2 separate regions of the Homo sapiens genome follow, and region 2 is linked to region 1. Evidence: promoter capture Hi-C in 16 types of primary human blood cells and fetal thymus (Javierre and others, 2016). All regions are on one chromosome and are shown on one strand. Each heading gives the region's core, a stretch centred on a gene start or on the middle of the fragment in contact. The rest is flanking DNA. Distances are from core to core; before and after follow the strand shown. Region 1 holds the start of HERC6 (HECT and RLD domain containing E3 ubiquitin protein ligase family member 6). Region 2 overlaps PPM1K (protein phosphatase, Mg2+/Mn2+ dependent 1K).

Region 1 (6,007 bases), core at 1,309-3,808:
ACCCCCTTTTCTTTGTTAAACATGGTACACAAGCTCCTAAGTCGAAGCACTTGAGTTTCACTTCTATTCTGTAAATTCCCACGCATGTAAATTCCCCTATATGTAAAAGATTAATAAAATTGTATGCTTTTTCTCCTGTCAATCTGTCTTTTGTCAGTTAAGTTTGCAGGACCCAGCCGCTGAACCTAAGAGGGTAGAGGAAAAATTTTCCTCCTCCACACACCTTTTGAAACTATTCTCAGCAGGTCATCAAAAATGTAGTCAAATATTTGCTTACGAGAATATCAATCAGTATTATTTATAAAAGCCCCTAGTGGGAAACAATCTAATTTCCACAAAAAGAGAATAATTATGGTACTCTCAGAGTTTAGAATGTTATGCAGCAATTTAAAACATATTTTCAAAACATACAAAATGAAAGGGTAATATGTTCATAAGATTATGCTTGATGAAAACACAATGTACAGAGTTGCATAAATACTGCATATACAAATCTATAATGACATGATTTTTATAAAGATTAAATATGTACATAGAAAAAAGTAGACAAGGAGAAAATGCATCAAAATGTTAGGAGTTATCTTTGGGTGTTGGAGCTACGGTGATTGCTTTCTCGTATTTCTACAATAATCCATAACGATTATTGTATTATCTCACATATATAATATATATATTTATTATTATTATGTTTTTTGAGACAGAGTCTTGCTCTGTTGCCAGGCTGGAGTGCAGTGTCGCGATTTCGGCTCACTGCAACCTCTGCCTCCCGGGTTCAAGCGATTCCCCTGCCTCAGCCTCCCAAGTAGCTGGGACTACAGGCGCCCGCCACCACGCCCAGTTTATTTTTTGTATTTTAGTAGAGATGGGGTTTCATCATATTGGCCAGGGTGGTCTCGATTTCCTGACCTCGTGCTCCGCCCGCCTCGGCCTCCCAAAGTGCTGGGATCACAGGCGTAAGCCACCGCGTCCGGCCTATTATGTGTATATATATATATTTATATATTATATATATATATTTATATATTATATATATATATTTATATATTATATATATATTTATATTATATATATATTTATATATTATATATATATTTATATATTATATATATATTTATATATTATATATTTATATATTATATATATTTATATATTATATATTTATATATTATATATATTTATATATTATATATTTATATATTATATATATATTTATATTATATATATATTTATATATTATATATATATTTATATATTATATATATTTATATATTATATATATTTATATATTATATATATTTATATATTATATATATATTTATATATTATATATATTTATATATTATATATATTTATATATTATATATATATTTATATATTATATATATTTATATATTATATATATTTATATATTATATATATATTTATATATTATATATATTTATATATTATATATATTTATATATTATATATATATTTATATATTATATATATTTATATATTATATATATTTATATATTATATATATATTTATATATTATATATATTTATATGCTATATATATATTTATATATTATATATATTTATATGTTATATATATATTTATATATTATATATATTTATATGTTATATATATATTTATATATTATATATATTTATATGTTATATATTTATATATTTATATATTATATATATTTATATATTATATATTTATATATTATATATTTGTATATATTTATATATTATATATATTTATATATTTTATATATATATTTTTATATATATATATTTTTTAATGCCCCAGTGTATTTCTAAGGGAGATACAGGTGTCTGACCCACAAACCACGTTTGTAAGGTCAGGCTGCCTTCTCCAGGTAGAACCGCGCAGGCGAGGATTTATCTGCAAGGCAAGCCGGAGGGACCACATCTCTTTCCAGAGCAGCGCTGACCAGGTTAGTTTCGGCTCTCAGTTTCGCTTTGAACTTGAATTGGAAACCGAAACAAATCCGAGGGGCGTTGGGAAAACGAAACTGAGGAAGTTGCTCTTCGGTAGCACAGGGCACCATTTTCCTGGTTCCTGTGGCTCTTCGGGCCCCGAGGAATCCAAGGCTCCCAGCACCCCTCCCTGCCTGGCCCGCGGCGCCCAGCATCTGAGCCGCTCCCTGCACCTGGGCCCCCGCGCCCCTCACCCGGGTCCCAGCGCTCCGCACCCGGTTCCCTGCGCCCGGTACCCAAGCCCCCGCGCCCATGTACTGGGGTCCTCACACCCTGCACCTGGGGCCCCCCGCTCACCTGGCAGCTCCCCGCGCTGCGCGCCCCTGCGGCCCAGCTGACCCCTGCTGTTGTCTCCGCACGAGAGGACCCTGTGGTTGGTCAGCAGCAGCAGAGAGTGGCGCTCCCCGCTGGCCGCCTGCAGTAGCTCAGCCCCGGGGCTGCCCGCCGTCCTCCGGCGCTGCAGCTCCCTGGAGTCGGCGCCCCAACAGAAGTACATCCCGCTTCTGCGCCCTGTCGCCTGCTCCGGATTCCGTCGGTCCCGCTGCGACAGGCTCCCGAACGCTGGTGACTGGGTGCGCGATGATTTCCTGAATATCAAGAGACTCACCCTGTCTTCAACCCGCCCCAGGGGCGCAGCCCTGGCCCCATGTCAACTCTCGCTGCCTGAACTTCAAGTGCTGAAGAGCAGAGAGGGCGTCCCAGGGAATAAAACTGAGTTTACATCCTAAGCCATTTATGAGTCGTGAATGCCACTTTGGGCAAGTTACCTAATGATTCCGTGCTTCAGCTATCATATCTACGAAATATGGACTGCAATTCAGCAAATCTAATATGTCGGGATAATTTAATAGGCACATAAAGTGTTAGAATAATACCTAGAGTGGTTAATAAAGCATCTGAGTGCCCACCTCATTCCAGACCTTTTTTGGCATTGAAAATATGTTTGTTTTTTGTTTGTTTGTTTGTTTGTTTGTTTGAGATGGAGTGTCGCTCTGCTGCTCAGGCTGGAGTGCAGTGGCACCATCTCGGCTCACTGCAACCTCCACCTCACGGGTTCAAGCTGATTCTCTTGCCTCGGCCTCCCGAGTAGGTGGGATTACAGGCATGCGCCACGACGCCCGACTTAATTTTTGTATTTTTAGTAAAGATGGGGTTTCACCATGTTGGCCAGGCTGGTCTCGAACTCCTGACCTCAAGTGATCCACCCCTCAGCTTTCCAAAGTGCAGGGATTACAGGCGTGAGCCTCTGGGCCCCGCCTGAAAATACAATTAGTGAAAGACAAGATCCTCTTGATGCGTTTACATTCTCCTGAGGGAAAGAGAACATAAACAGATAAACACATAGTGTAATATCAAGGGGCAACGAAAAATACAACAGGAACCAGAGGGTGGAGGCGGAAGGCACTGGTATTTGAGATGATATTAGGGAAGATCTCTCTGATGAAGTGATATTTGTGCAGAGAGCTGAGGGGACATGGGAAATGAGGGAATGAGTCGTGATCACACCTGAGGGCAGAGGATGAAAAGAAGCAGTTGGAAGGTTTTGAATAGAGAAGAGCCATGATCTGACTTCAGTTTTTAAAGATTCATCTGGCTGCTGTGTGAAAAATAATAGGACAAAAATGGAAGCAGAAAGCCAGTTAGCAGAGACTACTTCAGAGTTCAGGTCAGGTGATATCCTAGAAGGGAAGAGAGGAGAAGTTATTAGATTCAAGACATGTTTTGAAAGTAAGAGTCCACAGATTTGATGATGGATTAGAAATTGGGGGGAAAGAAGAAAAGGGATTAGGGATTACTCCAGGGTTGGCTTTAGGGGTTACTCCAAGGTAAACTCTACTGGACTGGGAAACCCTGAGGAAGGTGCAGGTTTAAGCTATGTGTGTCTGGAATACAGATTGGTAATGATAACTGTAAGATGCTTGTTAATCAAGAAGGCAATAGGATAAACTGTTTTGGAGTTGTAGAGAGAAGCTTGGGTGTAGTCAGAAAATTGGGAGCCATCAGTGTAGAGGTGATGCTTAAAGCCAGATGGCTGAATGAGAACACCCAGGGGGTGAATGTGGTGACAGTATAGCAGAGGCTAGAGGACTGATCATAGGAGGAAAACCAGGAGGAGGAGTTATAGACAGAGCAAGTAACGAATAAAGGAAGGATCAACTCTGTCAATTTCTTGTGGAGCAAGGTAAGGATTGAGCACTGATTTTTATTTATTTATTTGTTTGTTTGTTTGAGATAGAGTTTCCGCTCTTGATGCCCAGGCTGGAGTGCAATGGCGTGATCTCAACTCACAGCAACCTCCGCCTCCCAGGTTCAAGCAATCCTCCCGCCTTAGCCTCCCAAGTAGCGGGACTACAGGCACGTGCCACTACGCCCAGCTAACTTTTGTATTTTTTGAAGAGATGGGGTTTCATCATGTTGCCCAGGCTGGTCTTGAACTCCTGACCTCAGATGATCTGCCTACCTCAGCCTTCCAAAGTGCTGTGATTATAGGCCACCATGTCCCGCTGAGCACTGGTTTTTAGATTTGGTAACTTTGATAATGTTAGCCATCATCAGCATTATTGATTTTTTTTTAAAAGAAACTATTACAGAACCTATTTATGTAATTTCAATTCACCACTCTTCATGACCATGTTTCAAGTTCTTTAAAGAGAAGAACAAATGTTCTTTATTTTTCTACCTCAAGAGTACCTGGAACTTGGTAGATGCTAATAAGGGTATGTCGGACAATTGGATTGATGAGTAGTGAGTCAGTGGATAGTATTAGTATTTCTGGTTCTGTTTTGCTGTATACCAAATATAACCTTTTTCTGAATAGTAATTTCTTAATGTTTATTTCTTTTCTCAAGCACAAAATGTAGGAGTTTGGTATTATTACCATAAGATACTGAGCCCTCAAATTAAGTTATTTCTTTAAAAAAAAATTTTTTTTTGAGACAGAGTCTCGCTTTGCCACCCAGGCTGGAGTGTAGTGGCACGATCTCAGCTCACTGCAACCTCCACCTCCCCGATTCAAGCGATTCTCCTGCCTCAGCCTCCTGAACAGCTCAGATTACAGGCGGGCACTATCACACCTGGCTAATTTTTGTATTTTTCGTAGAGATAGGGTTTCACCATGTTGGCCAGGCTGATCTCGAACTTCTAACCTCAAGTGATCCGCCTGCCTCAGCCTCCCAAAGTGCTGGGATTACAGGCGTGAGCCACCACTCTTGGCCTAAAAAATCTTTTATTGATACATAATAGATGCACATGTTTTGGGGGTACATATGATAATTTGACACATTATCAAATTGGGATATCTATCGCCTTAAATAATTTATCTTGGGCTAGGCACAGTGGCTCATGCCTATAATCCTAGCACTTTAGGAGGCCGAGATGGGAGGATCGCTTGAGCTCAGGAGTTGGAGACCAGCCTGGGCAACATGGTGAAACCCCATCTTTACAAAAAATAGCTGGGTGCAGTGGCACATACCTGTAGTCCCAGCTACGTGGGAGGCTGAGGTGGGAGGATTGCTTGAGCCCGGAGCCTGGGAGGTGGAAGGTGCAGTGAGCCCAGATCGTGCCACTGCACTCCAGCCTGGGCGACAGAGCCAGACCCTATCTCAAAAAAAAAAAAAAAAAAAAAAGGAACATTCAAATTATTATTGGCTAGTGGTTTTGAAATGTACCTATAGTCATTCTACTGAGCTATTGAACCAGGTCTTATTTCTTCTATCCAACTGTATATTTGTACCCATTAATCAACCTCTCTTCATTTTCCTCACCCCTACCCCTACTCTTCCTGGACTCTGGTTACCAACAATGTACTCCTTATCTTCATGAGATTCACTTTTTTTTTTTTTACTCTCTGACATATGAGTGAAAACACGTGATAATTGTCTTTCTGTGCTTGGCTTATTTCATTAACATAATGACCATTCCACCCATGTTGCTGCAGAAATGACAGAATTCCATTCTTTTTTTATGGCTGAACAATATTTCATTATGTATATGTACCACATTTTCTTTATCCATT
Region 2 (5,880 bases), core at 3,381-5,880, 100 kb after region 1:
GCTAATAATTTTTTCTTGCAACCTTAGTCATTACTACTGATCACCCAGGCAAATTCCTTGACTGCAATCCTTAGAGACGAGGAAAGAAGAGAGGAGAGTGGCTGGTGACATAATAGACTGTGAAGGAAAGTTCTTAAAGGCATTATAAAGTTACAGGTTTGGGATATAGTCTGTGGCTTGTATGCATATTTACTAACGTGTCTTAAAAGATATCTATGGGAATAGAATACTGAGTACTTTTCACTGCTCACATTTCACACTTTTCTCCAGTCACACATCTGAACATAGACATATTCACATTAAACCTAAGGGGAGTCCTTTGGAGTTTTTATTGTTGTTTTCTTTTTTCCCCTCAGGTAAAGCAGTAAATTTTCTTTCCCTTCCTCCTAGCAGGGTATTGAGAAAGAAGGTATTGGGGTCCCAATTAGCTGAAATACATTCTGGAAATTTCCATACTATTTGAATTTACTGGGATGCCTTAATTGATTTTCTAAAAAGGTCGATAGGTAAATATTTGGTTTAAGAATATTTAAAAGGGCTGTGTTCTCATTGTGGAAGTTGTAGATACCTAAATGCCACTTCATAATGGGCAGATAGGAATGCTTTCTTAAAATATTTTTTCTAGAGGGATAAAATCTAAGCAGGTTTCAGAACTTTAGAACTCCTGAATAATTTTGGCATGTGCTTAAACTGCCCTTTTGACCTGCTTTTAACATACAAGAACAGTTTAACTCAAATCCAGTGCACCTTCCTGCCAGAGAAAGTGCTTTCCTTTTGGATGACTTGACTTCCAAAGATTGAATATAATGTTAAAATGGTTTATAAAAATAAACTAGCCATGTTTTCCGATCAAAAAATTGACCTAAATCTCCCCTGCTTACTTAAAAAGATTCCTTCTCTCTCTTAGTTTGTGGAATAATGAACTCATCCCAATTTTTAATTGCTGAACTGACAAAAGACAATCCTTAGGTGTTTGCTAGTTTGTTCTCCACTCTTTTTGTTTAGAGAACACTGATTGCTTTTTTTTTTTCCTTAAGGTTTTTGTTTTTCACATCACAAGTTCTACTCCCCTTGCCTTGCTGGTCAAAGCATAGTCATTCCCATGGGCATCGGCAGAGCTGTGGGGTCTATGATGGCAGATCCCAATTGTGGAGTTCTGGAGGAGGAAACTTTTCTTAATGTGCAGGTTTAATTCAAAGTTGTTATTTACTTTGGGAACTCCAGCTGCCTTTGAATTGTTTCTTAGGGAATATGGAGGGGATTGATATGATTTAGTTACATTGCAGATGGAAAAGGACATGGAGCCAGTTCGTAACATCTCGTTTACCTAAGCGATGCCGACCTGTTTGTTTGTTTTTTATAAACTAGCTATATATCTGGGTCACATTTCATCTCTGCCAATAATATGCCTTAAAGTAGGTGGTTTCCTATGACTGCCTGCTTTCTGAGATGATTATAGAAACAATACACGAGGAAGGATGCCAGGTTGATGATTGATTTTAAAATACGCAGGTTTTTAGCCTTACAGAAACTGCTCAATTTGCATTTTATCTCATTTCTTAAAAATGTTTCCAGTGGATATTTGTTCTCTGTGAGAATGCAGTTCTATTTTATTATTTAAAAAAAAATTGGGGGGAGGATAAAGAGGAGATAAAACGGCAAGAATATACTAGAACAGTTGCAGAAAAACTTCAATATTTATTTATTTGTAATTCCAGAACTCTGATTTAAAGTAGGTGCATGACTGCAAAGTAGCTCAAGGCTGAATATGGCATATATACTTTCAGACCGAAGCCAAAAGAATAGTATTTTGCTAATCTCAAGTTAACTCTTCAAATACAAATATTTTCTAATAATTGTATTTCTTTAAAGTTCTTTTTTTTTTCTATATGATATAAAGCTGCTTTGGGAATTATCTCCAAATAATTAGTACTTCCATTACCTGGTAGATTGTATTGTAGTTTGAAGTCTCAATTCATCACCTATAATTAACATAATTGGGTTTTTAAATTTTTTTTAACACACCATTGCTGGCTTGAATCCATAATTGTTGCTGAATAAAATCTAACTCTCAATTAGAAGCAAAAGAACAAACATCTCTTGCAATGGAATGTGTTATTTCTCTCTCTCGCTCTCTCTCTCTTTTTTTAAATAGACAATGTCTTGCTCCATTGCTCAGGCTGGAGTGCAGTGGTGTGATCTTAGCTCACTGCAGCCTCTGCCTCCCAGGCTCAAGCAATCTGTCCACCTCATTTTTGTACTTTTTGTAGAGACAGGGTTTCACCATGTTGCCCAGGGTAGTCTCAAACTCCTGGGCTCAAGCAGTCCTCCCACCTCAGCCCCCTTAGTAGCTGGAACTACAGGCATGCGGAACCACGCCTGACTAATTTTTGTATTTTTAGTGGAGACAGGGTTTTGCAAAGTTGCCCACTGGTCTCCAACTCTTGGCCTCAAGTGATTTGCCTACCTCGGCCTCTCAAAGTGCTGGGATTACAAGTGTGAGCCACCGGGTCCGGCCATGTTAATTCTCTTTGATAACCAGAGATGCTGTGTCTCTGCCACTCTCCAACCCCCCAACAATGTTGTCTTACGAAGAAATGAATTTCAGCCTTCTATGCAGGATCTTGGCCAAAAGGCCAAGAAGGGATGACTTCCTAAGTCTTTGATGATACATTACTTGTTTTGGTGGCCATCTTTATTCTAAATTCTGTGACAGCAGAGCTCATATTTTTTTTAATTGCTTAAATATCTAAAGATTGAGGCCAGTCTCTGTGGCGCATGCCTGTAATTCCAATACTTTGGGAGGCTGAGGTGGGAGGATCACTTGAAGCCAGGAGTTCAAGAGCAGACTGGGCAACAAAGTGAGAACCCATATCTACAAGAAATTAAAACAAATAAACACCTAAGGATGTTCTTTGGAACCTCATTCTTTCTTTTGACTGTTTTACCCACCGAAAGAAGTAATGGCCTTCCCTATACATAGCTAGACTGATTTCCAAAAATTCATTGGAAAGTAATTGTTTGAAATCTGTAGTGCATTTTCTCATAACTGCACTCAAGCTGGGTTTCATTTGTGTATGTTTATACCTTTTGGAAAGATACATTTTTTCAAGTTCATTTTTTATTGTGAAATAATTTAAACATAAGATTGAGAATAATATACTATCTGTAGACCATCCACCAACATCATCAAACCTTAGTATTCTGCCATCTTTTCAAGTTGATTTTAAAAGAATAAAGTAATAGAACAAAATCCTATGGAGACAAATTTTTTATTTGTGTGGAAAATTCCCAGAAACAGCTCTACCTGCAGTGGGGTAGGAGTTCCCCTGGGTAACACCCTGTAATGCCAAGAGAGGTTTTAGGATTGAGTTTCAGGGTGGAGTCCAGAAATGGGGGTGTAAAGTAATCGTTTCAAAGAAGTGTAGTCTCAAGTGTCGTTGGGTTGTTAGGGTTGGGGAAAGGAGAGCTGCAGCTGTGAATGTAAATATATAGATCACTCGTTCAGAAATCAGGGCTGCTTGTCACAAATGCAGTGCTGCCAGGTTCCTGAGATCATACCCACATACCCTCCTAGTGAGAGAGTCTGCTAGGATGGGGAGCATCAAAACTGGCTTATCTTTGTGCCTCTGGGGTGTTTGCACACCAATTTATATTTACCATAGTAATATAGTATGTAAAGCTTAGTAGGTTAAGAAATGTTAAAATAAAACTTAGATTTATCCTAGATTATGTTTTTGTTAAAACTTGGCCATTCTTTGGAAACAGAACTATTTTAAGTATTCTATTAGCCTGTTATTTTTTCCTGAAGAGACTTTGTTGCTATTGTTAATATTTATCCCTACCTTTTCTTTAAAGCAATAGAGTTAATGAAGGGAAGTATATTTATTTATACCTGTATTCTGTGTTCTTGCTACTAGAAGTGTAACTTGGGGACCAGCAGCTTCTGTATCACCAGGGTGTTGGTTAGAAATGCAGAGTGACTCCACCCCATAGCCACTGGGTCAGAACATGCATTTTAACAAGTGATTGCAGGTTCAAGTTTAAGAGATACATGTTCTGTGTATGTGCACACTGTTAAATTTTTATAGAATTTAAATGCTGTGAATGCGGTAGGAAAATCGATTCATTTTTGATCCACTGTTCTTAGAAGCAGGCTACTGGATGCCTACCCAATATATAACATAAATATATGTATTTTCTGTCAAATCCTTTATGAGCTTCATTTTTGGTAATATTTGATGACATATCAGTTATATTCAAAATTTCTGATGGTCTCTCTCTCTCTGTCTCTCTCCCTCTCCTCCTCTGCCCCTCTCTCCCTCTGTCCCCTGTGACTTGCATCATTTTTCTTGAAGACATTCCATTATTGTTCCATTGACCTTTCCCTCATCACTGAGTCCTTTGGAGCTGAGTTATGTCAACAGCTGCCTTAATTACTTTGGTCAGAAGTGGTGGGAACCAGGTGAGAAGGAGAGTGCTGCTAAGCTCCCGCCTGCTGCAGGACGACAGGCGGGTGACACCCACGTGCCACAGCTCCACTTCAGAGCCTAGGTGTTCTCGGTTTGACCCAGATGGTAGTGGGAGTCCAGCTACCTGGGACAATTTTGGGATCTGGGATAACCGCATTGATGAGCCAATTCTGCTGCCACCCAGCATTAAGTATGGCAAGCCAATTCCCAAAATCAGCTTGGAAAATGTGGGGTGCGCCTCACAGATTGGCAAACGGAAAGAGAATGAAGATCGGTTTGACTTCGCTCAGCTGACAGATGAGGTCCTGTACTTTGCAGTGTATGATGGACACGGTGGACCTGCAGCAGCTGATTTCTGTCATACCCACATGGAGAAATGTATTATGTATGTACAATGACTTTCACTCCTGACTTTGCAGTTCCTATACTTCCTACTTAAACTTTCACCCTTTGGCTGAGGCTTCCAGCGTAAACATAGTTACTTGAGTGGTTGCATGCTGCTGCTTCACGAATGAGCAGTAGTTTAAGTGTGCCATTTATTACTTATGGTTATCACAATTTCAGAAATGCATGTTTTAACAACTCCCCTGGGGAAAGCATTAACCAAAATCTATAGCACTTAATTTGTGATCATTTTAAGTGAAGTGGCATAATGTACATGAGATAACCTATGAGAAGCATTTACTCCCATCAGTGTAGGACAGATAAGTGCTTCAGTAAATGGTAATTACTCTTTCAAGTGGTGTGAATAGCTTTGAATACCTGACTTGTTGAAAATAGCTTTGGATGATTGGCATTAGTGTGGAAAAATGCATTTAATGCAGGCATTTTGGAGCTCTTCCGTTTATTTACTTCAACTAGTATTAATGCATTTTTGAGGATCACATTACTGCTAAAATTGAAAGAGGGAGAACATGTGATGGAGTTACGACCATGTGACTATTTTTGACTTCCCAGTGACCATTTCTTGACTTCCTGTGTATACCGCATTCCACGAAAGAACTCACAATGGGAAGGAACTCTCGACCTCTCAGGGTTGTGGTAGTGAGGATCAATTCTTCAAGGACAAGGACTTGGACTTTCATTGTTGTGCCCTTAAAAGCTTATCACAGTGCCTGATACTTTGTGGATTCTCAATAGGTATTCCTTAGCCAGTAGGTCTTCAGCATTTGACAGGAAAATCCTGAGGCCCGTTGTGTGGAATGACTGCTAGCTAGAGTAACAGTGAGGAGAAAAACCTATTGTAAAATGATTGTTTAAGGCTCTTTTTTTCCTCCCCACAAAGGGATTTGCTTCCTAAGGAGAAGAACTTGGAAACTCTGTTGACCTTGGCTTTTCTAGAAATAGATAAAGCCTTTTCGAGTCATGCCCGCCTGTCTGCTGATGGTATGTAAAACTATCACATTCC

Evidence for each region. The method cuts DNA at HindIII sites, captures the fragments that hold promoters and counts their contacts. A CHiCAGO score of 5 or more calls a contact.
Region 2: a fragment that was not itself captured here is called in contact with the fragment with the promoter of HERC6 in region 1 in 2 of 17 cell types (naive B cells and total CD8 T cells); the score reaches 5.8 in naive B cells.

The regions. Positions count from the first base shown.
Region 1 is chr4:88,375,403-88,381,409 of GRCh38, reverse strand. It overlaps HERC6 (HECT and RLD domain containing E3 ubiquitin protein ligase family member 6), which reads right to left and starts at 2,558. Exons shown (of 23, transcript NM_017912.4): 1 at 2,290-2,558. The coding sequence starts at 2,488. RefSeq lists an enhancer at 1,806-2,135 and a silencer at 2,146-2,335. The HindIII fragment of the contact is 10,681 bases long and covers 1-3,965 here.
Region 2 is chr4:88,277,121-88,283,000 of GRCh38, reverse strand. PPM1K (protein phosphatase, Mg2+/Mn2+ dependent 1K) reads left to right here. Exons shown (of 7, transcript NM_152542.5): 2 at 4,359-4,857; 3 at 5,758-5,858. The coding sequence starts at 4,418. Among named protein-coding and RNA genes, the nearest start is that of PPM1K, 4.5 kb to the left of the region's middle. The HindIII fragment of the contact is 1,892 bases long and covers 3,685-5,576 here.